Regions from separate parts of the Homo sapiens genome. Here all the other regions are linked to region 1. Evidence: promoter capture Hi-C in 16 types of primary human blood cells and fetal thymus (Javierre and others, 2016). All regions are on one chromosome and are shown on one strand. Each heading gives the region's core, a stretch centred on a gene start or on the middle of the fragment in contact. The rest is flanking DNA. Distances are from core to core; before and after follow the strand shown. Region 1 holds the start of TBC1D15 (TBC1 domain family member 15). Region 2 overlaps RAB3IP (RAB3A interacting protein). Region 3 overlaps CPSF6 (cleavage and polyadenylation specific factor 6). Region 4 overlaps FRS2 (fibroblast growth factor receptor substrate 2). Region 5 overlaps YEATS4 (YEATS domain containing 4). Region 6 overlaps ATXN7L3B (ataxin 7 like 3B).

The links. Contacts are between HindIII fragments. The CHiCAGO score rates a contact against its expected background, and 5 or more counts as called.
Region 2: a fragment that was not itself captured here is called in contact with the fragment with the promoter of TBC1D15 in region 1 in 1 of 17 cell types (naive CD8 T cells); the score reaches 5.4 in naive CD8 T cells.
Region 3: a contact is called between a fragment that was not itself captured here and the fragment with the promoter of TBC1D15 in region 1, in 3 of 17 cell types (activated CD4 T cells, non-activated CD4 T cells and total CD8 T cells). The highest score is 5.9, in activated CD4 T cells.
Region 4: a contact is called between a fragment that was not itself captured here and the fragment with the promoter of TBC1D15 in region 1, in 6 of 17 cell types (activated CD4 T cells, total CD4 T cells, non-activated CD4 T cells and 3 more). The highest score is 8.0, in activated CD4 T cells.
Region 5: a contact is called between a fragment that was not itself captured here and the fragment with the promoter of TBC1D15 in region 1, in 1 of 17 cell types (neutrophils). The highest score is 6.5, in neutrophils.
Region 6: a fragment that was not itself captured here is called in contact with the fragment with the promoter of TBC1D15 in region 1 in 1 of 17 cell types (total CD4 T cells); the score reaches 7.7 in total CD4 T cells.

Annotation. Positions count from the first base shown.
Region 1 is chr12:71,838,277-71,843,328 of GRCh38, forward strand. TBC1D15 (TBC1 domain family member 15) reads left to right here and starts at 1,483. Exons shown (of 17, transcript NM_001146213.3): 1 at 1,483-1,535. The coding sequence starts at 1,506. The HindIII fragment of the contact is 6,842 bases long and covers 1-5,052 here.
Region 2 is chr12:69,748,976-69,753,654 of GRCh38, forward strand. All of the region lies in intron 1 of RAB3IP (RAB3A interacting protein), which reads left to right. Among named protein-coding and RNA genes, the nearest start is that of RAB3IP, 12 kb to the left of the region's middle. The HindIII fragment of the contact is 3,242 bases long and covers 1-3,097 here.
Region 3 is chr12:69,239,630-69,244,082 of GRCh38, forward strand. It overlaps CPSF6 (cleavage and polyadenylation specific factor 6), which reads left to right. Exons shown (of 10, transcript NM_007007.3): 1 at 1-77. The coding sequence starts at 18. Among named protein-coding and RNA genes, the nearest start is that of CPSF6, 2.3 kb to the left of the region's middle. RefSeq lists silencers at 1-262, 413-632 and enhancers at 96-676, 677-1,256, 4,160-4,453. The HindIII fragment of the contact is 823 bases long and covers 1,900-2,722 here.
Region 4 is chr12:69,579,561-69,583,952 of GRCh38, forward strand. FRS2 (fibroblast growth factor receptor substrate 2) reads left to right here. Exons shown (of 9, transcript NM_001278356.2): 9 at 1-233. Among named protein-coding and RNA genes, the nearest start is that of MIR3913-2, 3.0 kb to the right of the region's middle. The HindIII fragment of the contact is 3,759 bases long and covers 600-4,358 here.
Region 5 is chr12:69,385,156-69,389,475 of GRCh38, forward strand. The region is part of intron 6 of YEATS4 (YEATS domain containing 4); the gene reads left to right. Among named protein-coding and RNA genes, the nearest start is that of YEATS4, 28 kb to the left of the region's middle. The HindIII fragment of the contact is 5,671 bases long and covers 1-4,320 here.
Region 6 is chr12:74,543,640-74,548,341 of GRCh38, forward strand. It overlaps ATXN7L3B (ataxin 7 like 3B), which reads left to right. Exons shown (of 1, transcript NM_001136262.2): 1 at 1-1,791. Among named protein-coding and RNA genes, the nearest start is that of ATXN7L3B, 8.2 kb to the left of the region's middle. The HindIII fragment of the contact is 7,760 bases long and covers 1-4,702 here.

The sequences.
Region 1 (5,052 bases), core at 233-2,732:
TTGGGCATAAGGGTCTTGGTCATGGTTGGAATCTCAGATACCTAGCACGCAATCTCCCTAATATGCTACGCATTCATTCCCACCTAAGGTTCCACCACTTTCCTCACCTATTAGGTTCCTGGTAGTCACATAACCGGCAACTCTCCTTTTCTGTCGTTCAGCTAGTTGCCACCTACCTCAACCAAACTCAAAAGCCTCTAACCCCTCTCCACTGTGTGAAGACGGAAGTACCTCAATGGACACAAGTGTTTTTGGTGAAAGGGACTTTTTATTCTGCCCCGGAGCTAGGGAAATCCCAGATCTGTGCCAGAGTTATCAAGGGGGTAGTATATAATCATTCTCTGCATTCTTTTACAGCACTGAGAACAAGTAAAATTCTTACCTTAGTATCTTTACAAATCATTTTACCACACATGTATTGTCGTATGAAATCCCTACAACCACTCCATGCAGGAGTAATTCCCAGTTTACATCCTGAAGCTCTGATAAATTTAGAAACCTGCTTTAAGTCACAGAGCTAATAAGTAATGTGTAGGTGCTATAAACTATGTGCCTTGGGCTCTGCAGCTATGAGGGCGTGGTATTATCACAGTTCCTATCGAAATACCTTGCTGGAGGTCATGTGTGAGTGGCAGTGACCAGACAAATAGAGAAACCTCATATACAGAGGGGAAAAGTCTCCATGTATAGTGCCTGGGATATCTCCATGTTAGTGCTGCTCTTTCTTGGATCTTCACCGCAACGCCACTATCTTGATTTTACTATAAGAAACTGAGGTTTCGAGTGCACTGGTGATTTGCCTACTGCCACAAAACCAGGCTAATGGGCTGGGCGCGGTGGCTCAAGCCTGTAATCCCAGCTCTCTGGGCAAAGGCTGAAGCGGACGGATCACCTGAAGTCAGGAGTTCGAGACCAGCCTGGGCAACATTGGCGAAATCTCGTCTCTAATAAAAATTTAAAAATTAGCTGGGCGTTTGACGCGCGCCTGTAATCCCAGCTACCCGGGAGGCTGAGGCTTGAGAATCGCTTGAACCGAGTGGCGGAGGCTGCAATGAGCCGAGATCGCGCCACTGCACTCCAGCCTGAGCGACAGAGCGAGACTCCTTTTCTACAACAACAACAAAAAACCAGGACAAATCTTGCTGGCTTCCAGTATGGTATTCGTTTCATCTCACCAAACTGGCGTGGCCTGCGCTAGCTTCAGAGTCTCGACAAACTCCAATACAAGTAAGGTACACATTATTTTAGCAGTCTTCCTTGGGGAGGACGTGGGGCAAGCACAAGCGTAGCGTTAGGCCTGAGACTCCACCCCAGCCGTCTCTGAGCCCAGTTCAGCACGCACGCGTCAGGCGGCTTTTTTCCGCCCGGCTCCTTTCCTCCACTCCCTTCCCGCCACTCCCCGCCCTTTTCCCGCCCGGATGTTATTCTAGTTTTGCCGGATGTTGTTGTATGTCCGAGAGACACGTGAGGTTCTGCTACGTCATTACCAGGCACGCGCAGGAAACATGGCGGCGGCGGGTGTTGTGAGCGGGAAGGTAGGTAACGGCCTCCAGGAAGACCTCGGCTTTTCTCTGGGACGGGGATGCTTTTGCTCCCTGGCAGCTGGTTGGGGGAGGGACACGAGGGACTTTCTGTGTCCGGACAACCCGTGGCGTCTGTAGGAGAAGACTGGGTGGTACCAGCTGGTTTCCCGAGAATGCCAGTTCAGCCGCGGAGTTATAGAGCCGGCTACTGCTCCAAGGCCAGCTAGGCCTCGGCGCTCTTCTGCCCCAGAGCAGAGAGGCTTTTATTCGTATTACCTTTACTAAGGGACAGGTGGCTCTCTAGTTCCTTTTTTCCCCCGATTCACTGTTTCTTGACTCTAGTTCTTTATGTCTACTCTTCTGACTCCAGCGTCTTTTCTCTCTTTGAAGCGTTAACCCGACTTGCCTCTGTCTTCTTTGCTACAGTTTGGTGAAGATGTTTATGCTTCCTTCGGGAGGAGCTGAATAGATGCTAGGCAGCTAGCTGTGCGCTTAGAAGAAACGAGTGTATTGGGTCTGTTTTTACCAAGCTGCTGAGTTGGTTGGTGGTTGTGAGCAGCAGGACGTGTTTCCTGAGAGAAATGGAGATTTACACCATCCTGTGCTTGTCTAGGAAGGCGTCCAAATATTTATTTCCTAGGCATTTCAGTAGGAGTATTGGTCATGCTGGTTTACGGAGGTGGTCAGTGACACGCCTAATTTCGTTGGAAACTAGAATTACGTGCGGAGATTTCGTCGAATAGTGCCTATTCGCGTTCCGAGGGCACATCTTATGCATAGTTAGGGCTATCAGCTTTATGATATGCCACCGATAGTATTTCCCAGTGCAGGAGTATTTCATAAACAGCTGGAATCAACTGAAGTGACTCATCGAACACTAATGGTTGTTTACTCATTGCAGATAGCGTCCTCTGTTCCTTGAGTTTCACTCATGTCTCCCTGTTGCTTTCCCTACCCCATTTTGAATTATTTGACAGCGTTTGTGGTTTGGTGTTTGGAGTATTAGACTAGGCGGCTGAATGACAAATATGGGCTTGGTTTTGCTGTTAATCTGAAGTATGACCTTGGAAAATTGGGCAATTGTGACTTTTGTCTTTTCGCGTTCTTTATCTGTAGAATGGAGGAGATGCCAATCATTATTTCTTGTATTGGAGTTGTTAGGGTTATATAAATTTTTTTTTAAAAAAACATAAAATTACACACTTGTACCTACTGGCTCTTTTAAAGGATAGGTGGGCATCCTTTTTTGGATTATTCGTGCTCCTTGGTTGTCTTGTCAGTTTTTTTCTTTTTATATTCAGGGTGGATGCTGATATACTGCTTGACTTACTGCGTATTTGAAGATTATCCTGTTTGATTTTCCATCTAAACTGATCCAGGCTGGGACTTTTCAAGAGGGGATCCCTTCCGTTTAAACATCTCCCTCTTTCAGGTTTGGATTGATTTTGAAAGAATCCTTGAGGCAATGAAGCAGAGTTGTGAAATGAAAAACATTTTTCACTCTTTGCAGCCACTACCTTTCATAGTCTGACTTCTTAAAGTGAGACTTATATTTAGTAATTCTGCTTCATAACCTCATTTATTCTCATTCACTGCAAATTCACATCTATTGCCATCACTCCACTGAAACTAGTTTTCCATGCCAAAAGCTGCTCCTCTCCCAAGTAATACTATCATGACCAACAAAACCCACTTGTTCTTCTCTCAGTAAGTTCAGATCTGGTTTAATGGCATCATCTTTCACCTGGTTGCATGTTAAACATACTTGGAGGCATTCATTCCTATAACACTCTCTAATCAATAACCATGTCCTACCAGTTTTACCTTAAGAGGTTTCTTAAATTTACTGCATCTTCTTTACTATCAGCGCATAGTTCAGGCTTTTAGTCTGCTTCTATTCTTGATTTCTTGGCTGATTTTACTCCTTTTCTACAGTCTCTGCCCTTAATCTTCTCTACACCACCACTGGAGTTATTTTTCTAATGCGCAAACCTGATAATCTCTTGATTTAAAAAGCAAATGAAAACTCTTCACTTTTTTATCGTCAGCATAATAATAATAATAATGAAAGCTGGTTAATGTAACATAAAAAGACATGATACCTTTATGCTTCCCTACTTCCTAATCTTTTTTCTTTAGGAAAGGGGATGGGGAGAAAATGTGTGTGTGTGTTTATTTATTCATCTCCCCTCTCCCTTCAAGTTTTAGCTAAGAGTTCTAGTTTAGAAATCCAGGGGAGTGAATGTTAACCAAGGCTCACAAAAATCACTCGTGATACTTTTTAATAAAAGTACAGATGGTGGGCTACCAGCTCTGTTGAATTAGAGTCTCTCAGTGTCTCCACCTAGGATGTAACTTTTCTTAAAACTCTACTTGCTTTGAACTTGGAGTTTCGGAAAGTGATGGAGGAAGTTAATCTCTGTCTTGTAGGGAAGCAGCAAAAGGTAATGGTTAAGAGCTTGGTCTCTGAAACCAAACTAGTTTCAGAAATTATCTCCACACATTTACAAGCGACTTCAGTAAAATTACTTAACCTCTCTGTGCTTCAGTATCCTCATCTGTGATATGATAACAGTACCTACTTTATTCTTGGTATGAGGATTAATGAGTAAATATATTAGAAACTGTAGACTGAACTAATCATCATGAGGTCAGATCCTGAAATGTTTCATCTGCCCCTAACATAGATTCTGGCACATAATAGGTATTCAGTGAAGAGGAAGAAGCAAGAAGGTATGAGAAAATGAGGAACCAGGTGCCGTGGCTCAGGCCTGTAATCCCAGCACTTTGGGAGGCTGAGGTGGGAGGATCACTTGAGCTCAGGAGTTCAAGACCAGCTTGGGCAACATAACTAGACCCTGTCTCTATGAAAAATAAAAAAATTAGCTAGTTGTGGTGACATGTGCCTGTTGTCCCAGCTACTTGGGAGGCTGAGGTGGGAAGATTGCCTGAGCCTGGGACTTGGAGGCTGCAGTGAGCTATGATGGTGCTACTGCACTCCAGCTTGGGTGACAGACCAAGACCCTGTCTCAAAAAAAAAAAAAAAAAAAGAAAAGAAAAAGAAAATGAGGAGGGATTAGAGTGGGAGAAATGGGTCCATTAATAGCTCTTTTGTTTCAGAGTTGTAAAATCCTATTGTAGTACACTTCATTCACTCTAGGTTTTCCTGTTAGTGTATTAGAATTTCTTTCTATTGAAAATTACTGGCCGGGCACGGTGGCTCATGCTTGTAATCATCACTTTGGGAGGCTGAGGTGGGTGGATTACTTGAGGTCGGGAGTTTGAGACCAGCCTGGCCAGCATGGTGAAACTCTGTCTTTACTAAAAATACAAAAGCCGGGCATGGTGGTACACGCCTGTAGTCCCAGGTACTCAGGAGGCTAAGGCAGGAGAATCGCTTGAAACCAGTGCAGTGAGCTGAGATTGTGCCACTTGTTCAGACTGGGCGAAGGGCATACTGTGTTTCAAAAAATGAAAAAGAAAATTACTTGAAACAATAGGGAAATCAGCTGTTTTTTTTTCTTAATTA
Region 2 (4,679 bases), core at 227-2,726, 2.1 Mb before region 1:
CTTGAATTTAGACAGTATTTAAATGTATCCCCCAGAAGGGAAACATTGTAGGTTAGAAGCACTGCTCAGAGGCATTGTCCTAAGTGCTATATAACAGGGGTCCCCAGTTCCTGGGCTGTGGACCTAAAGTGGTCTGTGGCCTGTTAAGAATTGGGCCACACAGCAGGAGGTAAGTGGCAGAAGGTAAGTGGCGGACAAGCGAGCATTCCCACTTGAGCTCCACCTCCTGTCAGATCAGCAAGCTGCATTAGATTCTCATAGGAGTGCGAACCGTATTGTGAACTGCACATTGCAAGGGATCTAGGTTGCATGCTTCTTAAGAGAATCTAATGCCTGATGATCTGAGGTGGAACAGTTTCATCCCGAAACCATCTCCTCCCACCCTCTGCCCTGTCTGTGGAAAAATTGTCTTCCACGAAACTGGTCCCTGGGGCCAAAAAGGTTGGGGACTGCTGTTATGTAGTATTATCCCTTTTAATTTTCATTCTGTTAGGTAGCAAAACCAAGACACAGATTTCCAGATGGGAGAACCTAGGCTCAGATTGTCTCAGTAATTTGACAGAAGTGGGATTCAAACCTGCCTCTCTTCGAGACTTGTACTTTATATTCATAGCTTGTGCTCCAGCTAATGGAGTAACTGCGTTTTGTATAAATGCTTTGCTTTCACATGGTGGACATGTCTGGAAAGCCCTTACAAAGGTTTTGTCTTTCTCATTTCTTGCTTGTTGTTTGGATCTTTCCTTTGGCTTTATTTTTTCGGGAATCCTTTGTCTCTGATTTATTTGTCCTTCCCGTGTGGTCTCTGAGTTTATTTGCATCTTCTGTGGCATTTATCACATATCATTGCCTCTACTTGTCAGTCTCCTACTCTAATAGGCTGTTTGAAGGCAGAGTAGATTTTTCTTCTTTCCCCAGATCCTGGCACAGAGTAGGTCATTAGTAAATACTTGCTGAAAGAATGGCTGAAATACTGTGTTTATATGTGGGAAAAATAGGGTTAATGTTGCAGGCATGATGGATTTTAATTCAAAACTAAGAGAAACATTTTCACTAGAACAGTGGAACAATGGAGTGGCAAAGCAGTTCTACTTGTAAGTGTGTCGTGGTGGTTAAGAGCTTGGACAGTAGGGTCTAATAACGGTAGGCTTTAATTCTGACTACTCTAAGCTGCAGTTTCCTCAACCATAGATGCGCTATGCTTAATATTTAGTAAGTGCTCAACGAATACTAGCTGTTATGGGAGGAGCCACCTTAACTTCCTGTGAGATTGGGGCTGGTAGTTGAATGACTTGGCTCCTTGGCTTCCCATTCCCTTCCTCTCTCCCTGGATTATTTTGAAGCAAATCCAAGTAATCTTATTTCATCTATAAATACTTCAGTGTGTATCTTTTTTAAAAGATAAGGATTTTAAAAATACAACCATTATGCCATTATTATCCCTAAAATTAACTATAATTCCTAATAACATAATTTGTTTTTACAGTTGGTTTATTCAAAGAAGAATCCAAACAAGGCCCACAGATTGTGTTTAGTTAATTCTCTTAAGTTTATAAATTCCCTCTACCTCGTTTTTTTTTTTTTTTTTTTTACAGTTTATTGGAAAAACCAAGTAGTTTGTTTATGATGAGAGTTTCCCAAAGTCTAGATTTTGCTGTTTTTGTCCCTGTGGTGTTATTTAACATGTTCCTTTCTCCTCTGTATTTACTATAAACTGATGACCATCAAGAGGCTTGTTTGATTTGGGGTCTTTCTTTTTTTTTTTTTTCTTAGGCCAGAATGCTTTATTAATGGCAGTGATGTTCATTTCTTATTTGCCACATAATATACATAATGTTTGATTGTCTCCGTTTTTGTGACAAGATGTGATCAGTGAGTTCAGGTACTGTCATTCTGATTGATTAACTATAAAGTTCCTCAAACAACCTTTTACCTTATGGTTTTAATAGCTATTTAAATAATTATTGCCCTAAATCCATTATTTCATTAGGATTCCAAAGTTATATTTATTAAGTGGAATTCTGCTAAAAAGAACTTTTTCTCATGAGCTGTTCAGTTCTTTGATATACAGGAAAGCCAGATAAAATACTTCATTCTTTCATTTTATTTACCAATTTTGAAAATAATGAATTGGTTCCATAGCATTGATCAGAGAAGGCCAGTGAGGTACTTTGCTTTATTTTTAGTGTCATTATGACCTCATGGATTTAAAAATATTTGCCTTTCAGTTCTTTGCAGATATTATCCTTTTTGATGTTCAGATTGTCCCGTTTTTGGTTAGTGGGAGTCCGTTTGATATCAGTCCAGTAGTTTTTGATGGTGTGCTTGCTTTCTGGTATAACAAGATGTTCCAGGGTCCTTTCGTACATTTCTGTCCCAGGCTGGAATCAGCCATTTTTCCCAAGGAGCCTGTGTTCTTTTTTTTGGAGGACATGGTATTACTCTGAGTACATGGGTGCGCATGGCTCCTGAGTTGGTCAGCGTTGCTATGCTGACCAACTTTTCATTGGATAAACTTAGAATTTTTTTTCTGGTGTTTCTGAGTAAAATTTAGGCCTCTAGGATTTAAATTCTTTGATTTTATATTTGTAGTTTTTCTAATATGCTGAAAATCTTAGTTCCAAATGACATTAGCATAACTTATTTGCTTCATCTTATAACAAAGTTTCAGAATCACAGTATCAATATTACTACTGTTATTAACATTGAAAATAGGTTGTGACTTTTTTCACTTCCTTTTGCTTTTAGAATACATTCCATTAGGGATATATATTTATGTTGTTATGTTTTAAAATCACTCGAAGTAGTTCTTTTCTGTGTGGTTAAGCTACCATCTCAGTACACAAGTTTATTTGCTTTATGTTTAGGGATTCTTTTTTAAACTTTAATTTTTACTGTTTACATGGTTCCAAGCTCAGAATCAAATCTGTAAAGCAAGGTACTTACAGAAAAAAGTCTAGCTTTCATATTTTTCACTCTGTCATCTCTCCTTCTATAGGTAACCATTTTGCCTGCTTTTTTTTCTTTTGTTCTTTTTTTTTTTTTTTTCAGGATAGGGTCTCGTTCTTTCACCCAGGCTGGAGTGCAGTGGTATAATCAAAGCTTACTGTACCCTCAAATTCCTCAGCTCAAGCCATCCTCCCATCTTAGCCTCCCAAGTGGTTAGGACTATAGGCCTGCACTATCACACCCAGCTAATTTTACAACTTTTTGTAGAGACAAGATCTCACTATGTTGCCCAGGCTAGTCTTTTAACTCTTGGCCACAATTGTCCTCCTGCTTCTGTGTGTCAAGTTTTTGGGATTACAAGTGTGAGCCACTGAACCTAGCCTTTCCATTAAAAAAAAATTATATATATATATTTATTTATTTTTATTCTCCTTTTTTAGATAAAAGGTAGTTTACTGTTATTTATCCTGTTTTTTATCTTACTGGTATATCTTCGATGTCACTTCATAGCGATACATGGATATGTATTTTACATCTGTGCAGTGCTTCATTATGAGGATGTACCCTGGTTCATTGAATCAGTTTTTTGCTATTACGAAGAGTGCTGTTGTCATGTTGCCAGTTTATCTTTAGGATAAAGCCCCAGGAGTGGCATGCTGGGTCACAGGTTTAATATCATTTTGAAGTTATTGCTAAATTTTCCTCCATAGGATTTGTACTATTTTGTATTTCCAGAAATGCAAATGCTTTTACGTTTTATGATTCAGTGAACCTTCAGGATATAAAGAGGTGAATTCATAGTATATGGGATAGAAGAAAGAATCATAAATAGTTACTGATTAAAATGTCAAAATTTAATGCAAACGTAATACAAAGGTTTTTTATGTTAATGAATTGGTTAGTGTACTTGCCTGAACTATATTCAAGTGAAAATGAATTATGTACTTTGAATATAGCAGTTTTCTTGGTATATGTGGGTATATGGATTATGAATAAAAAATGAAAATTCTTTTGGGTGAAAAAATAATAAATTTTAATGGAGTATTAAACACCTTACATTCCTTATTAATCTCATCTTTCATTTGGCATAGTGAATATTTTATGTGAAAAAAGCAAGGACTAGTTTCATTTTGAAGAATAAATCATTTGCTATTAGTAAACAGCTGATTGGATTTGAAATTTGTCATTTGTAGATTTAATTGTTGCACTTTGGGTTGTCTATATGCTGGAAAGTCTGTGACACATACTAATTTGTAATTTTGAAATGATACTGAGTCAGATCTCTTTCAACTTTGCTGAAATCTTTTTGTTTTTATTCTCTACTTGTATTAACACTTTTTATTAAGGATTTGAGAGTTAAATTTTTCAGCTAGTTTAACAAATGACTACTTCTGTATCTTATGGAAGAAATGATGTGCTATATTGTTTGGTTTGGCATTTTTTTTATTTTTATTTTTTGAGTTGGAATCTCAATCTGTCGCCCAGGCTGAAGTGCAGTGTCTCAGCTCATTGCCACCTCCTGGGTTCAAATGATTCTCCTGCCTCAGCCTTCCGAGATCTGGGATTATAGGCATGGGCCACCATGCCCAGCTAATTTTTGTATTTTTAGTAGAGACAGGGTTTCACCATGTTGGCCAGGCTGGTCTCGAACTTCTGATCTCAAGTAATCCACCCGCCTCGGCCTCCCAAAGTGCTGGGATTATAGGTATGAGCCACCAAGCCTGACCTGTTTG
Region 3 (4,453 bases), core at 1,061-3,560, 2.6 Mb before region 1:
GCCGAGGCTGAAGGAAGATGGCGGACGGCGTGGACCACATAGACATTTACGCGGATGTCGGCGAAGAGTTCAACCAGGTACGTGAGAGCCCAGGTCCCCGCCGCCGACGCGGGCGGCGCTGCGGCCGGGAAGCTGACCCGGGGCCCGCTGCGGCCGCGAGCCGAAGCGACTGCAGAGTGTGCGCCCTTGCCGCCTCTGGGCCGCGCCGCCGACCCCTGGCGTGGCGCCCCCCCGCCCCTCGTTCTACCGCGTCGTTTCACGGGCCGCGGGCGCGGCGAGTCGCCGCGGGGCCCGGAGCGCGGACGCGGGCCGCTGTGCAGCTGCCGCCGGCTCCTCCCTCGCCGGCGCTGCCTCGCTCCCTATTGTTGGCGGCACCCGGCTGGCGCTTCCCGCCGCGCTAGGCCCGGGCGGTGGGGCCGCGTGTAAGCGGCGGAGAGAACTGGCCGCCGCCGCGCCCCCTCCCCCGTCGCTGGTCGGAGGAGGAAGCCCTGGCGGGGCGCGTGCCCGCCGCCGCCGCCCCTTCCCCGCCGCTGCCGCTCGGGCTCCGATTCCTCCCATCGCTCCATTTTGTCTCCCTGCCCGCGCACTGTCGCCTCATGGAAGGCCGCGTTCACGGCCCTTTGTATCCCGCGCGCCCAGTCCCCGGGGCTCTCCTTCTCGGGTTTGCGACAGGTTTCGGCGTGGCGCCTTCCTCCTCCCCTCACACTTTCTGAAGGCGACTGAGGTGCGGGCTCATTTGCAACAAGTCCTTTGACTTTTGGAGCCACAGATAAAAGTCGGTGCGCTGGTCCTGCCTCATTAATCCAGGGCTTGCAGTGCTTTGAAGCCCAGTCGTTGTTGGCCTTTGTGATGAAAATACCTGTGAAGATGAGTGGCCGGGGACCAAAAGGAAGAATTGGAAGCGCGATGGTTGGATGGAACAAAAAGATGTTAGCTCACCCACAGATCTCATAGTGATTAAAATGAAAGAACGTTCACCCCAAATCCTTATGATGTGGTTTAAAAATAAAGAGTTATAGATAAGACCCTATTTTCGAAAACAAAGTGTTAAATCCCCCCACCCCCACCCCCGGGCCCCGTGTTACCTTTTGAAAGGTTGAGCGAAAGTGAGAATGCAAGGTTTTCCTGAACGACGTTGCTTAGAGGTAACGCGGGGCTGTGATGTCTGTTAATGGGCATCCTTGCAAAAGATGTCGTTTGTTGCTAGTGACGTTTAAGGTTTGAACCTGCTGTTCGTATCTACTGCATTTTATGTAGTAACACATTTAAAACAATTAAATTGTGCTTAACTGCAATGTTCCTAAAAGCCTTATTTTTTTGTATTTCCCAGGTCCCTATGAGAAGTTTAATGAAATATTACTGGCTAATGTGGTTTTCCCACCTCCATTAACCATCATATTCGTGACTAGTTGCTCAGGCTTTTTAAAAAACAAGGAAACTCAAGAGATCTTTACTGTTTTATTTTTCAGGAATGACTTTGTGCCTCTGGTTTAAATATTAGAAAACAGAAAAATACCAGTTGGCTTTAAATGTTTGCTATTCAGTTAAAGACTGGATTTGTTTAAATGTAATACATTGTAATCAAAGGTTAAGTTTTTAAATCTTTGTGTTTTTAAAATTGTGCTTATGTTTTAAATAATAATACTTGAGTTGTGTCCATTACAAATCAGATACATTCCTCGAGTGCAACACAGGTTCTAACGCTTATAAGACCTCTAGGAAATTTTTTTCCTTTTATTTATCAAATGAATATAACTGCGTTTAAAAGAGGGCTGTAACTGCAAGGAACAACGATTGAGTGTTCAAGACTGCCTTTATTAGCTTTACTTACAAGATAATACATTGGTTCACCTTTCTATGCACAATAAAAGAAGAATTGGGTCTCAATTTTAGAAGTTAAGCTTTTTTCAGTACCTCTTAATGAAATATTTTTAGGCTTTTGCATACTTAATTTGAGAGGGACATCTCCCTTATCCGGATAGCTGGGTGGATTCTTATCCCTGTGCAGTAGCAAGTGCTGACTGGGCAGGAGGTAAAAAGAGATTAGTTTTGTGGACCCAATGAGGAACTCCTTTTAAATGTAAGTTTTCAATGATTTGTATAAGGTACCTACTGCATTACGTCTAACACAGTTGTATAATTTTACCAGTAAAATCTTTATATGTTTGAATAGATTAATGGCGAGGATAAATAGAGGCATTGTTTTTGCTACTTTGCATATCATTGGCCAATCAATGATTGATTGATTTGTATATCCTTTTACATTACCGCTTCTTGCTGTGGTAGTTTCTGTACCAAAAAAAAAAAAAAGGTCACAAAAGGATAGTTGGTTATTTTCAGAGCTTATCTTGTTTTTAAAAATATGTTACTGTCATTGAAATATTTTTCCAAAATCTTACCAGAATTAGAGGCAACCACAAAATAATTTACAACTGATTTAATCTTTACTAGCTGGCGACCTTATTTCTACTAGTTGCTATAGTAGACTAGAACTCTTGTTTTATTGTCGTTGAGTAAAATACTAAATAGTAGCCAGTTTTGACTTACTTTGGCTTCAAAGCTGTTGTAAACATTAAAAAAAAAATCTTTGTTTTCCAGTGTAAACTGCAGTTCTCATTGGATTTGTATACTTTGAAATTCGGGATAGTCTTTATTTCCATTTTCTACTATTTTTTGTCTGTATCCTGCTGAGTCTTCTATTTTAAATGTCATACTTTTATGAAGCTTTTTTGTATTTTGGTAAGGCACAGTATTATTTCAAAAAGTGATTTGCATCTATTGAAGTAGAAAAAAGTGAGGCATTCAACAGTCTTAGCAGAAACTAATTTGGGGATAGATTGAGAATAATAAATTAGTGAAGCTCTAATAGAGTGCCTTTCTTCACCAGGTGAACTTAAGAATGGAGAATGAAGGGGGGAGGAGGCACAAGGGACTGGCTACTCCTTATGGGTTCTCTTTAGTTCTTAGAGGTCTTTGGATGTCACCAAGCTGAGAACAGCTGGAAGGGGAATTTGAACATCTTCCAAACCTCTCTATTACTTGAAGTTGAGAAGAAAGTGATTCTGTCTCACAGTAGCATATCAATTCAGTTTAAACTGCATTTATACTCAAGTGTAGTAATTACTAGCCCAATATTTAGTAATTGTAGATTTTAAAATTCTGGCCAAAACTAAATAATTTAAAAGTTGAATTGTTTAGCGCGAGTGTGGTGGCTCATGCCTGTAATCCCAGCACTTTGGGAGGCCAAGGTGGGCAGATCGCTTGAGGTCAGGAGTTGCAGACCAGCCTGGCCAACATGGTGAAACCCCATCTCTATCAAAATACAAAAATTGGCCGAGTATGGTGGTGCCTGCCTGTAATCCCAGCTAATCAGTAAGCTAAGCAGGAGAATCGCTTGAACCTGGGAGGCAGAGGTTGCAGTGAGCCAAGATCGGGCCACTGCACTCCAGCAAGACCCTGTCTCAAAAAAAAAAGATTGAATTGTTCAAAATACATTTGTTGAGTGTCTGTTATGTGCCAACAACGAGGGATACAAAGTTTAGGTAGTCTCTACCCTTAGAGTACACTGTAGGGGAGCTGAGAGATACCTACATACAGTAGTGCACACGTATCCACAGTTCCACTTTCTGTGGTTTCAGTTACCCGTGGTTCTGAGGTCTGAAAATATTACATACAATAAGGTAGTTTGAGAGATACTATATTTAGCTAACTTTTATGACAGTAAACTGTTCTACAATCATGTGTCGCTTCACGATGGCGGTATGTTCTGAGAAGTCCATCTTAGGTGCTTTTGTCATTTGTGATCATAGAGTGCTTTTGCATTTCAAACCTGGAAGGTACAGCCTACTACACATGTAGGCTATATGGTGTAGCCTGTTGCTCCTAGGCTACAAACTTGTACAACATATTACTGTACTGAATACTGTAGGCAGTTGTAACACAGTGGTATTTGTGTATCTAATATATCTAAACAGAAAAGGTAAGTGAAAATCTTGATATAAAAGATAAAAAGTGGCACACTTGTGTAGGGCACTCATGAAAGGAACCTGCATGATTGGAAGTTGCTCTGGGAGAGTCAGCAAGTGAGTGGTGGGTGAATGTGAAGATCTGGGACATGCTGCTGTAGACTTCATAAACACTGTACAGTACACTCAGGCTACACTAAATTTATTTAAACTTTTTTCTTCAATAATACATGAGCTTACTGTAATGTTTTCACTTGATTGATTATTTTCTCACTGTCATCCAGTCTGGAGTGCGGTGGTGCAGTTGTGGCTCACTGCAGCCTTTATCTCCCAGGCTCAAGCAGTCCTCCTGTCTTAGTCTCCAGAGCAGCTGAGACTACAGGCATGTGCCACCATGCCTGGCTAATTTCAAATTTTTTTTGTAGGGATGAGGTCCCAGCTAGTCTCCAGCTCCTGGGCTCAAGCTGTCTTCTTGCTTTGACCTACCA
Region 4 (4,392 bases), core at 1,229-3,728, 2.3 Mb before region 1:
TTTGGATTTTGCAATGCCTTACTGTTGTCATTCTAGCATAAATATCCATAATGAGGTACTCAAGTTGATACTGGAAGCTGAGCTGATCATACACTGACCTGAAGCATTCATGAAAAGCTGCTTTATTGAATAAAGTCTGATTGGAGTTCTTTTCATGCTCACTTTCCCCTTATTGCTGAAAGTAGATTGCAATAAAACCCCAATAAAACGTTTGGTCGGATATCTACTTAAAAGTTTTATTGTATTTATATTTCACATACTACTTGAAACTTTGTGACATTTTCTTTCCTAGTCTCATATCACTGCCTCCATTTTCAAAATGAAGATATCAAAATGAAATTGTAACTATATGACAGGCTTTCTCACAGTTTTAGCTGTGTGATCATTCCAAATAGTAGTTCTCAGCTCTGGGACTTCAAACCTGTTTTTAGCCACTGAGTGACATTGCAAAGCCTTAGTTGAGTACAGGTCAAGATGGAAATTATTTAAACAATGAAGGAGATGGACATGTCCACAAGTGATTGATGTAACTGGCATGATAAAGACACACACAAAGGAAGGGCATCCAACTCAGCCTAGGGGTGGAGGTTTTCAAGCAAAGCTTCTTAGAGGGGGTGATCCCTGAGGTGGTTTGTTGAAAGTCTTTGTAGCTTAGAGAGGATGTCTTAGGGAGAAGGGATAGCATGTGCAAAGGCACAGAGGTATAGAAAGATCATGACATTCAGTGGTTGCAAGAGGTTCCAAATGACTAAGCGCATGGAGAGCAAAGGCAGGGTTGGGGGATACAGAAGAAAGGAGAAATGAGAAACAGATCACAGAATCCTAAGGAGCTTTTGTTTAAATTAGGTGAGAGAACTTGAAGGATTTTAAACACCAGAAAAATAATAGTTTAGAAAGATTTCTCTGACAACATGGATACGTGAAGGGCGCAGTATTTTTTTTTTTTTTTTTTTTTTTTTTTTTGAGACGGAGTCTCTCCCTGTTGCCCAGGCTGGATGGAGTGCAGTGGCGCCATCTCGGCTCACTGCAAGCTCCCCCTCCCAGGTTCATGCCATTCTCCTGGCTCTGCCTCCCAAGTAGCTGGCCCTACGGTATTTTAATAAAGCAGGGAGACTGGTTGAGAGGCTTTTTCAGAAATGGAGCCAGATCTGATAAATCCGTATTCAAAGGCATTGTTAAAGGACTGTTTAGATTGTTTACTGCTGTGCAACAAACCACCCTAAAAGTTAGTGGCTTAAAGCAGCAATCATTTAATGTCTCAAGTTGCTATAGATCGAGATGGGCAGGGCACAGCAGAGATGGCTCATCTCACATGATGTCTGGAGGCCTGGCTTCCTCATATGCTTTGTGCCTATGCTAGTATGATTCAAGCAGCTGAGGGCTGGCTGGACCAGTTCCACTAGGTTATGTCTGGAACTTAAAGCTCTCAGCTGTGTTCCTTAGTTTTCTTCCATGAAGTCTTGGGTCTTTCTTCATGTGGTCTTCTTACATGGCAGCTTAGGGTTCCCAAGAGCACAAAAGTAGATGCTGCTAGGCTTTCTTGAGGCCTAAGCCCAGAACTGGCACAATGTCAATTCTGTTGTATTTTGTTGAATTACAGTGGCTCATATAAAAGCATGAACATCAAAAGTGTAGTTTATTCAGGGCCACCAATGTAATAGAGGGCCTAAAGGAGGAAGAATTAACACCTCTGATTGATAAGGGGAATGACAGAAATGGAGGGGTCAAGGATGACCCCCAGTTATCTGGTTTGGGTGACTGAGATGGTTGATGGTGTCAGTTCATTGAGATTTAAGATATATTTGGGGGCTGGGCATGGTGGCTCATGCCCGTAATCCCAGCACTTTGGGAGGCTGTGGAGGGTGGATCACTTCAGCCCAGAAGTTTGAGACCAGCCTGGGCAACATGGTGAAAACCTGTTTCTATGAAAAAATACAAAAATCAACTGGCGTGGTGGTGTGTGCTTGTAGTCCCAGCTACTCAAGAGACTGAGGCAGGAGGATAGATTAAGCCTGGGAGGTTGAGGCTGCAATGAACTGTGATCCTGCCACTGTGGTCCAGCCTGGGCAACATAATGAGACCCTGTTTTTTTTTTTTTTAAAGTGCTCCTCTAAGTGTGCTCCACAGACTGATTCCTGTGTACAAACTATCACGGTCTGCAACAGGAGAAATATCAAGTCTTCTAACCTTCTCCCTACTACCCAAACAGTAGGTGTCTGGGTGGACCCAACTTAATGTGACTGTGGACTCCTGGTCCTTTATTTGGTTTCCTTCCCCAGGTATTCTAACTGTTCCTGAGGAATGTTGACAAGTCCCATAACTCTGTTCTGGTGGTTGTTTGCCACTTCGCCAGTTATTTCACTCCAGTTAATGAATCTACCCTTGCTCCCAAATCACCTCTAGCCATCAAATAATGATATGCTACAGTGCTTTCCTACTTCCATAACATGCCAAGCATATCCAACCTCGGCTACTATATTTATAAAGCCTATTAGAAGACTTGGGATATAATGATAACAATAGCTAAGCTAAACAGGCACTGTTCTAAGCTATTTAATCTGTGATAATTATCTCCATTTTACACAAAGGGAAATTGAGGCACAGAGAGATTATATAACTGGAAGCTGACCAGTTAACAAAAAGCCAATTCACTGAAAGCCAAATTATACCAAGGGGAAGAGAGAGGAGGACACAGGGTCATAGAGAGGAGAGGGTCACAAAGACTTTGAGGGAGGAGGAAGGGTTAACTAAGAGAAGCCAAGACCAAGGGACTTGAGAGTAGAGGACAGAAGATGAGCCAGGAGAAAGTCACACAACGTGTTTAATCACAGAAACATGGATTCCCAAGGTCTCACTATCTCCATAGGCCCTGTAACCTATCTAATACAAATTACGATAAAATGTATAAATAGATGGGCACAGTGGCTTCTGCCTGTAATTCCAGCACTTTGGGAGGCCAAGGTGGGCAGATCGCATGAATTCAGGAGTTCAAGACCAGCCTGAGAAACATGGCAAAATCCCGTCTCCACCAAAAATACAAAAAATTAGCTGGTGTGGTGGCGCATGCCTGTATTTCCAGCTACTCGGGAGACAGGTCGGAGGATCGCTTGAAGTCAGGAGGCAGAGGTTGCAGTGAGTGGAGATCACACCACTGCACTCCTGCCTGGGTGACAGAGTAAGACCCTGTCTCAATTAAAAAATATATATATAGGTGTGGTGGCTCATGCCTGTAATCCCAGCACTTTGGGAGACTGAGGTGGGCAGATTGCTTGAGGTCAGAAGTTCGAGACCACCCTGGCCAACATGGTTAAACCCTGTCTCTACTAAAAATACAAAAATTAGCCAGCTGTGGTGGTGCATGCCTGTAGTCCCAGCTATTTGGGAGGCTGAGGCAGGAGAATTGCTTGAACCCGGGAGGCGGAGGTTGCAGTGAGTTGAGATCATACCACTGCACTCCAGCCCGAGCGACAGAGTGAAACTCTGTTTCAACAACAACAACAACAACAAAAAAGTATAAACAGCTAAAAGAGACAGTTTTTGGTAAACCAGCACATTGATCACGCTCTGAATGGCCTTCAATGAACTGATTTAAAGAGCCTGTGAAACCCACCCAAGACTACAAAGCTAGTACGTAAAATGGTTGAAATTCAAACTCATATAGTCTGGGTCTAGAAGCTGAGTGTTTAGCCTCTAGGTGTAGAGGTGTCATCAAAGGAGGGGGAAGTAGGAAAGAAGGAAGGGTCAAAAGATGCAATGGAGAAAGGACACATTTCCAAGGGTCCCATCATAGAGTCTCTTCCTGGCTGCCTCTAGCCTCAGTTCCACAAGGTGGCAGGGCCTGCCTCCTTCTCCCCATCCAAATGCCTCTGGCTACATTCAAAGCCCAGCAGGGAGCAGTCATTGGTTTCCCCATCACACACAGTCTCAGGCTTGCCTACCAGAGGACATAATAAATATCTCCAGGTATGTAATTTTGCCCACAATAAAAACAACCTTTTTCAATATTGTGCAGGCATCTTAGTTTTTTATTGTGAATCTTCTCATTCCAGAATGCGATTTGGGATCTGCCTAGGAAAGTACATTTCCTGAAAGAAGACCAAATTTTCCTACAAAGAAGAGAAAACTCTTGGGAGATTTAAAATAACAATTTGTCCAGCCTGAACTCCCCTTTTCATGTTGGACCTGAGGAATACTGTAAACCAGGGTCAGCAAACTTTTTCTGTAAAGAATTAGATAATACATGTTTTAGGTTTTGTGGGCCCATTCAACCTGTCATGACTACTCAACTCTGCCACATAACTCTGCTATCGTATTGTGACAGAGTAAATATGTATGGGTATGCCCATGGATTCCAATGAAGCTTTATGGACACTGAAATATTAATTTCACAGG
Region 5 (4,320 bases), core at 962-3,461, 2.5 Mb before region 1:
GGTATGTGCCACCATGTCTGGCTAATTTTTTTTTTTTTTGTAGGGGCAGGTTTCTCCACCTCAGACTCCTAAAGTACTGGTATTACAGGCATGAATCACCATGCCAGCCAGGAATTTTAAATAGTTGTACCGATTAAGAGTAAACTTTGCACTCTCATGAATTGTTTTGTGAGTATAAATTTAGCTCTTTAGGAAAGCTATCTGGGAATATTAATCAAAGGTCTAAAAAATATGTATAGTTTTAATAATCTGAGGGCATATGATAGTCAATATTTAGTAATAATAAAATGCCAGACTTATTCAGTGCTTACTATTTGTATTCTTCTGAGTCTGTACATGTATAAACTCACTTAATTCTATAACAGCTTTATTAGGTAATATTTAGAAAAGGAAACCGAGGTATAAGGAGGTTAAGAAACTTGCCCAGGGTCACACAGCTAGTTAGTAGTAGAATCAGAACTTGATCCCTGGCAGTCCTCAGAACTTAGGCTCCAAAAATTTAATAGTATTTTTATAGAGAGAATATTTATTATGGAGTATATTGGAAGTTTAAGCACTAATGATCTAGCTTTTTAGTTGCTTCTTCAAGAAATAGTAAAAATGATAGTGAACACTTAGTGAGAGCTTACTATGTACCTGACAAGCACTTTCCATTTCTTAACTTATTTAATACTCTAAAATAACCCTAGGAGGAAGATACTATGATTAGCACCATTTTGTAGGTAAAAGCTCTAGAAAGATTTGATAACTTGCCCAAAATTACCCAGTAGAGCCTGCATTTTAAACCCAAAATCTGTCCACTTAACTAATAAGTTGTAAAAAGCCTGATAGTCTGTCTCCTAACCAGTATGCTGAACTGACTTTATAAAAGTAGTAATTCTTTGGATTTGTTTTCTCGAAATTGAGCTTCATTGGGAAATTAAAAACAGAAACTTTTCTTTTTTTGTATAAGCATTTAACACATAGGAAGCAGAACACTGGAACAAGCTAAAAGAAGTTTTAAAATGTTTTCCCCCAGGATCTCATTGCTAATTAACTCATGTCTTCTTCCAAACATCTAGTGCCCTTCGCAGTCTTACAAGTTGTCAAAAATAAAAGTATCATGAATCAAACAACAAATCTATGTTATATCTACAGTGAATGCTGTCCTTCTGACAATTGAGTTAATCAGGTCTCCCTGGCTAGTTTTAAAACTACCGCTTACAGCTATACAGGACTCCTTGTCTTTATGCTGCTTCCTGGGCCTGTATGCCCACTTCATTTACCTAACTCCTTTCTCATTGTTTAAAATTCAGTTTAGATGTTACTACTACCAAGAAGCCCTCCTTCATAAAACTCACCCTTTCTACTTGATTTGAATCCAGTCTACTCTTGTCGTTCCCTATGATTACCTCATAACATTAGTGCATTTTTTTCTTACCTGTTTCCTGCCTCTGTACCCCAGCATCTAACAAAGCGCATATCATTCAGTGTGTTTTTTAAATTGATGTGGGGAGAGAGGGTATAGGGGAATACAAATTTCTGCATAGTAAAAAGCACTGGGAACAAAGTCTAAAGACTGACAGGCCATAGAAAAATGTACTCATGTCACAAATGACTAGTTTCTTAACATACAGTAGTCCCCCTTTATCTGGAGAGGACACATTCCAAGAACCCCAGTGGATGCCTAAAACTACAGATAGTACCAAGCCCTATATACTGTTTTTTCCTATACATATATACCTATGATAAAGTTTAATTTATAAATTAGGCACAATAAAAGATTAACAACACTAATTAATAAAATAGAACATTATAACAATGAACTCTAATAAAAGTTATGTAAATGTGTGCTCTTTCCCCACCCCACCCCCCAAAAAAATCTTATTCTACTTTTTACTCACCTATTTTCAGACCGCTATTGACAGTGGCTAACTGTAAGCATGGAAAATGAAACCATGGATGAGGGGGGACTACTGTATAAAGCTGTATATAGCTCTTACAAATCAATAAGAAAGGCCAATAACCCAATAGGAAAATGAGCAAAAGGAAAACAGATCATTTGTAGAAAGGGAGAAATGTCTCAAACATTATAAAAAAGATGAGTCAGCCCCAATAGTAATAAGATGAATGCGAATTACAGAAATACTGTTTTTAACCTTTCAGGTTAGGTAAGACCAAAAAGTTGATGCAGTAGGGAAACAGACACAATGCTAATGGGATTATAAATTGGTAGATCCTTTTGAGTTGCTTGATGTTCTTCCAGAATTACAAGTACATATATATTCTATAACAGTTCCATTTCCAGGAATTTATCCTACAAATATACTAAAATGATTATTTACAGCATACACATTATTGCATTGTTTGTAAAAGAAAAAAATGGAGATACTCTGAGTGTACATCAATAGGGGGCAGACTAAATGAATTTTATTTATCCATTCAATTAGGTCCTCTGTAGTCATTAAAAAGAATGAGACAGCTCTGTGTTATAGGGTGAGCTTCCAGATATAATGTTAAGTGAAACAGCAAGGTGCAAAACAATGTGTATAGAATGATACCACTTGTGTTGGGAAGAAGAAGAAACTGCACTTGGGTATATGCTTTGTATATCAGCAGACTATTTCTGGGAAGATATCAGAGAACACAACAGTGATTATCTCTGGGAAGAAGCACTGATTGGTCATGGCAGGCTGGGGAACAAGTGTAGTAGAAGGGCATATTTTTTCACTGTCTACTCTTTAATCTTTTAATTTGTAATCTTGTGTGTACTACCTATGTATAAAAATAATTTGTAAAAGAATGAAAAGAATTACAAAGTAAAATATGAATTGTTTTGACAATCACAAAAAGCAAGTCACCAGCAATGAGCAAAATAAGGAAAGAACTCATTAATATTCATTGAATTTTTTTATTTTTTTTATTTTTATTTTTTTTTTTTGAGGCAGAGTCTCGCGCTGTCGCCCAGGCTGGATGGAGTGCAGGGCGCGATCTCGGCTCACTGCAAGCTCCGCCTCCTGCGTTCACGCCATTCTCCCGCCTCAGCCTCACGCGTAGCTGGGACTACAAGTGCTCGCCACCATGCCCAGCTAATTTTTTGTATTTTTAGTAGAGACAGGGTTTTACCGTGTATTGCATGTTTTTTATGTGCTAGATGCTTTACATATAATTACTTCATGTAATCTTCGTAAATCCTCTGAGAAATACCTAGTTTTAGCTGTATCGTACAAAGAGATTGATGGAGCCTTAGAAATGTTAGCATTCGGCTAATAAGGAAGCAAGGGTTTATTTGAAATCAGATCTTTTCTGTTTCCATAGTTGGGTTTTTTTCCCACCAAACCATCTGGCTTCCAATTAGTGACCATCTTTTATTAGTGAAAGTAAGTATAAGTGTACTTTAATAGTGAGCAGCAGTTACCAAAAATGTCCACAAGATGGAAATGTTAGACACAAGCAGATATTTTTCTTTGTAAAACATCATGCTACATATCCAAGTGGCATATTTAAATAGATGTGTCCTGTTTTGCAGTAACATTTCTTTAGTACTTTGTTATAGATAGATAGTTTCAGATATCACTTAATGTTTCTCTTTTCTCATAACAATAGTTGATAGGGCTTTTTCTGTACCAGGCAGTATTCTGGGTACTTTACATAAATTAATTCATTAAGTCTTCTCAACAGGCTGGGTGTGGTGGCTCACACCTGTAATCCCAGCTGCTTGGGAAGCTGAGGTGGGATAATCACTTGAACCCGGGAGTGAGAGTTTGCAGTGAGCCAAGATCACACCACTGCACTCCAGCCTGGGTGACAGAGTAAGATCCTGTCTCAAAAGTTTTCTCAACAAATAATATTATGAAGTATTTGCCATTATCATTTCTGTTTCATAAGTGAGGAACATAGGTGAAATAGCTTACAGTGTCACAGCTAGTAAGTGGCAGAGCTGGGATTCAAATTTTAGCAGTTATTGCCACCTATTTGAAAAAAAGATATTGGCTTGTATTGATAGTGTGATTTTGTTTATAAGTTTCACCTGGGCCGGGCCTGGTGGCTTATGCCTGTAATCCCCGCACTTTGGGAGGCTAAGGAGGGCGGATTGCCTGAGCTCAGGAGTTCGCAGTCAGCCTGGGCAACACGGTGAAACCCCGTCTCTACTAAAATACAAAAAATTAGCCGGGCATGGCAGCATGCACCTGTAGTCCCAACTACTCAGGAGGTTGAGGCAGGAGAATTGCTTGAACCTGGGAGGCATAGGTTGCAGTGAGCTGAGATCATGCCACTGCTCTCCAGCCTGGGCGACAAGAGCGAGACTCCATCTCAAAAAAAAAAAAAAAAAGTTTCACC
Region 6 (4,702 bases), core at 1,118-3,617, 2.7 Mb after region 1:
AAAATAACAAAAGTAAACATCAACAAGTCAGTTTAATCACAGGATGGCAAGATTTCATCTCAAAATCATCACATTACCATTAGAGAAAATCCATGTGAAAATTTGAACTGATACTGAAAAATAGTTTGAAAAAATTCAATACGAATTATTGCCTAAAAAACAAAGACATTAACAATATAGAAACCAAAGCTCAAGAACTTGTACACACTGCAAAAGGGTATGTACCAAAAATCTACACCAGTTACTATACTTATTAATGAATACTTGGAAGCACTCCCTTTAAAAGCAGGAATGGAAGAAACAAAATTTTTACTGTTCTAAGATGATATTTACATGAACAATTTTATAGAATCTAGAAACAGTTGTTCTCAGATGACATCTACATCTACATGGATAATTTTATAGAATCTACAAACATACCATTGAAAGTAGTGAGAAAATTTAGCACAGTTACTGGATATAAGATCAATATCTAAAATCAGAATACCAACATTTAAAAAGTGTTATTAAATTTAGAATGTAATTCAACAAGTTATAACAGTCCTATGAAATAATATCACAAGAACTGTGTAAGATTTTATAAAGAAAATAATATTTTCTAATATGTTGGGAAAATCCCAAGTAAATGGAGAGAAGATGTTCACGCACAGAAAATGCAATCAATATCATTGCTCCAAATTATGTGAATCGGAAGCAATCTGTATTACAATCCAAATAGATGTGCTCATGGAACTTGACAAATTAATTTTAAGATTTATATGAACACCAGATGCTAGAATAGACAAGATCTTTTTGACAGATGTATATTTTAGTTTTGGTGCAGAAACAATGGAATAGAATAGAGTTTAGAATTAGATCGAAACACACAGATTACACGTTTATGTCTTGATGTGTGGTTAAATTTGTATTATAATCAGTGGAATATAAACCAGTATTGTGGAACAGATTATCCATAAATAATAAAACTGTGCTCAGACACAAAATTAATTCCTATATGGATTAAAGATTTAATGTGTAAAAGTAAAAAATGTCAAATCTTTCTAGAAAAATATAGGAGGATGTGTTCATAATTGTGTATAAGGGGAAAATTTCTTAAAAGTACAAAACATAGAGAAAAGATTGATGTGTTCGACCATAATAAAAATAGAACTTTCTGTTCATTAAATCATACTAGAAACAAACAAACCAATAACCTGATGTGCTAGTTGTTTAGTTCTTATAACTGATTAAAGATTACTAACAAAATAGTTGTACAATTGCCAAATGTATAAAGTAAAAGAACAGCTCATTCTTACAAAAAGAAATATGAATGGCCAAAAAGTTGTAAAAGTTCCCTTAGGTTCAAAGAAATGCAAACTAAAAACAAAATACCAATTTACCCTACTCAGTATGATTAAATTTTTTTAAATGGTGATGACATCAACTCTGAAAGGCATATGGAGCAATTAAAACACTTAAACTGCTAGTAGGCTGTAAATTGGTAAAAAATGTTTTTAAAAGCAATTTAGAAATACCTGTTGTGGTTGAAGACAAAAGTAACCAATATCCCAATATTTCCACCTGTTGCAGCATTATATGTAATAGGGAAAAATTGAAAGTAATATACCCATTTGGAATACATATAGTCACTATACTGAAGTGAGAATAAATTAACCAGAGCTGTACAAATAAAATAGTAAACCTATGTTCTTATACTTTGTTGCCTTTCTTTTGATGTTTAACAATAGGCAAATCAATGCTGTATGTTGTTTAAATAATTGTGAATATGAAATAAAAACTATACCAAAAATATTGGATGAGACTTCCACTTTCATGGTTATGTTCCTGTAGATAGCAGACTAATTGATATAGGACATCAGTATGCTAAGTAAATTGAGGTAAAGATACTCTTAAATGCATTACTGTGTTCCCAAGGAAGTGAAGGAAATACCCAGAATACCCAGGTCTTTCTTCTAACGCACACACACCCCAAAGATACAAATGAAAACAGAAAAGGAGAGTGCACTGAGGAAAATATAGATACCATATGATACTGGGAGATTAGACCCTGATCATCACAAATTGAAACTGTAAATGCAAGATGCCTGAAATAAAGTTTATATCCTTGGTGAAAGGATGGGCAGAGTAAAACTAGATAGATTGATAAATGATTGATTAATGGGTGGACAGATAAGAGAAACCTTCATTACTTTAGAGAGAACAGATGAAAAAGAAAGACTCTGCTATTGCCTGAGGTGAAATGAATTGACTAAAATAATAACAGTCATGCCATTATCATCAACATTTACTTTGGGAATGTGTACCCATACACTTGGTTTCACATAGCTACCCTACCCTGCCAGTCAGAGAAACTTTGACCTGAGAATTTCATAATGTATTGAAAATGATATTGTACCTCTTGGCTACCTGACAAAATTTTGTTCCTTCAACATTTTCACAAAATATAAGTTTGCAATAAAAGAAGCATCTGTTTCTTTAAAGATTTCATTTATAGCCATCATACTTTTTATCTAATAAATCTGTTTACAAGAAAGGAATTCTAACTCTATAGTTTATTATTTCTGCTGACTATATATAATTAGAACTTTCTCAGAATTATTAGATACAGAATATGGCCTTAAATGAAATCTGTACATTAGTAGATGGAATTTTAAACGAGCAAAGAACAGGAGAAAATAATGCAGTTTTAAAAATTAAAGTAATAGAAATAAAAGTGCAAAGAATGTATTCCAAAAAAATTTAACGTCATTGTATAGGTAAAATCTCAGTTTAATCAAGCTGGAAAAAGAGAAGGAATGAATCAGAATGAAGCAGTTCATGCACAGCAGAGTAGTTGTGTTGCCTCGTCTCCCAGTGATAAACTTACATGCTATTTTTTAAATAAAATAGATAATCAAAAAGTGAAAGTGCAGCAAAGAAAAAAAGTGATAACACTTGAATTGCAATTGAATGTAATTAGAAGATGGCTGATCTTCAGAATGGTGACACAACATTCTAGAGGCCCAAGATATACAGCCAGAAGAACTCAGTCAATGAGAACATTGGCCGTAATGAAAAAGAATGAAGATGTTTCAGAAGAAACAAAGCTGTCAATAAACGACATTAGGTGTTATGTCAGATATTTCAAGATACTGAAAGTGCAAAAGGTAAGTTGTGGCCGGGCGCGGTGGCTCACGCCTGTAATCTCAGCACTTTGGGAGGTCGAGGTGGACAGATCACTTGAAGTCAGGAATTTAAGACCAGCCTGGCCAACATACCAAATACAAAATACGATGTAAAAATACAAAAATTAGCCAGGCTTGGTGGTGAGTGCCTGTAATCCCAGCTACTTGGGAGGCTGAGGCAGGAGAATCACTTGAACCTGGGAGATGGAGGTTGCAGTGAGCTGGGATCGTACCACTGCACTCCAGCCTGGGCGACAGAGTGAGACTCAGTCTCAAGTATGCTAAGGAGAATTCTAGATTCCTGTCCCCTGGTTATTCAACCAAATAGTAATCTGCTGTGAAAGGATTTTGCAGATGTAATTAAAGTCCCAAGTCAGTTGACCTTAACATGTGGTGATTATGTAGGTGGTCTTGACCCAATCACATAAGCACTTCAAAATCAGAGTTTTCTTCATCTAGTAGTGGAAGAAGACAGATTTTAAGTGTGGGAAAGATTCAGTGCACCATGGCTTGCTTTGAAGATGGACTGGGCCACATGAGAGGAATGTGGCTGCATCTAGGAGCTAAGAGTGGCCTCCAGTTTACAGATAGCAAAGAAATGGGGATATCAGACCTAAGGCAATAATAGGTTGTGGATTGCATTCTGCAAAAAACGAACAAACAAAACCCTGAATGAGCTTGGAAGCAGATTCTTTGCCAGAGCATCCAGATAAGAGCCCAAACTAGCTAACACTTCGTTGTCAGCCTTGTAAGACCCTTAGCACAAAGCTCAGCCTAGCAGACTGTGACTTTAGAACTAGAGAACTGTGAGAAAATAAAGGAAGGTTTTAAGAAGCTAAGTTTGTGATGTCATTATACAACAATAAAAACCTAATACAGTCATAAGCTGATCCAGATTTAGGAGTATGTCAGTTCACCAAGGCACAGAAAAGGTGCTTGCTCTATATCTTGATTTACATATGAGAATATGAGAAGAAGGATAGCAACGTTCAAACTATTCTTCTTCTTTTTTTTTTTTTTTTTTTTTTTTGTGTGTGTGTGACAGAGTTTAGCTCTGTCACCCAGGCTGGAGTGAAGTGGCATGATCCCGGCTTACTGCAACCTCCATCTCCCGGGTTCAAGTGATTCTTCTGCCTCAGCCTCACCAGCTGGGATTACAGGCACATGTCATCATGCCCGGCTAATTTTTGTATTTTTAGTAGAGAGAGGGTTCCACAATGTTGGCCAGGCTGATCCCGAACCCCTGCCTGGCCTCAAGTGATCCACCCGCCTGGGCCTCCCAAAGTGCTGAGATTACAGGCATGAGCCATTGCGCTCGGTCAGTTCAAACTATTCTTGATAAATTTTGTACAAATAAAATACATTTATTCTCAATGTTTCTAATGTTTAAAATCACAGTGTATGTAAATACTGCTTTTACTATTCTTTTATTTCCCTGTACATTCATCACGTTTATCATGTTTATTAATAAGAAAGTTTCCAATATTGCAACAATATTATTTTTGTTGCAATATTGTCACCAAATGATCTTAATTATT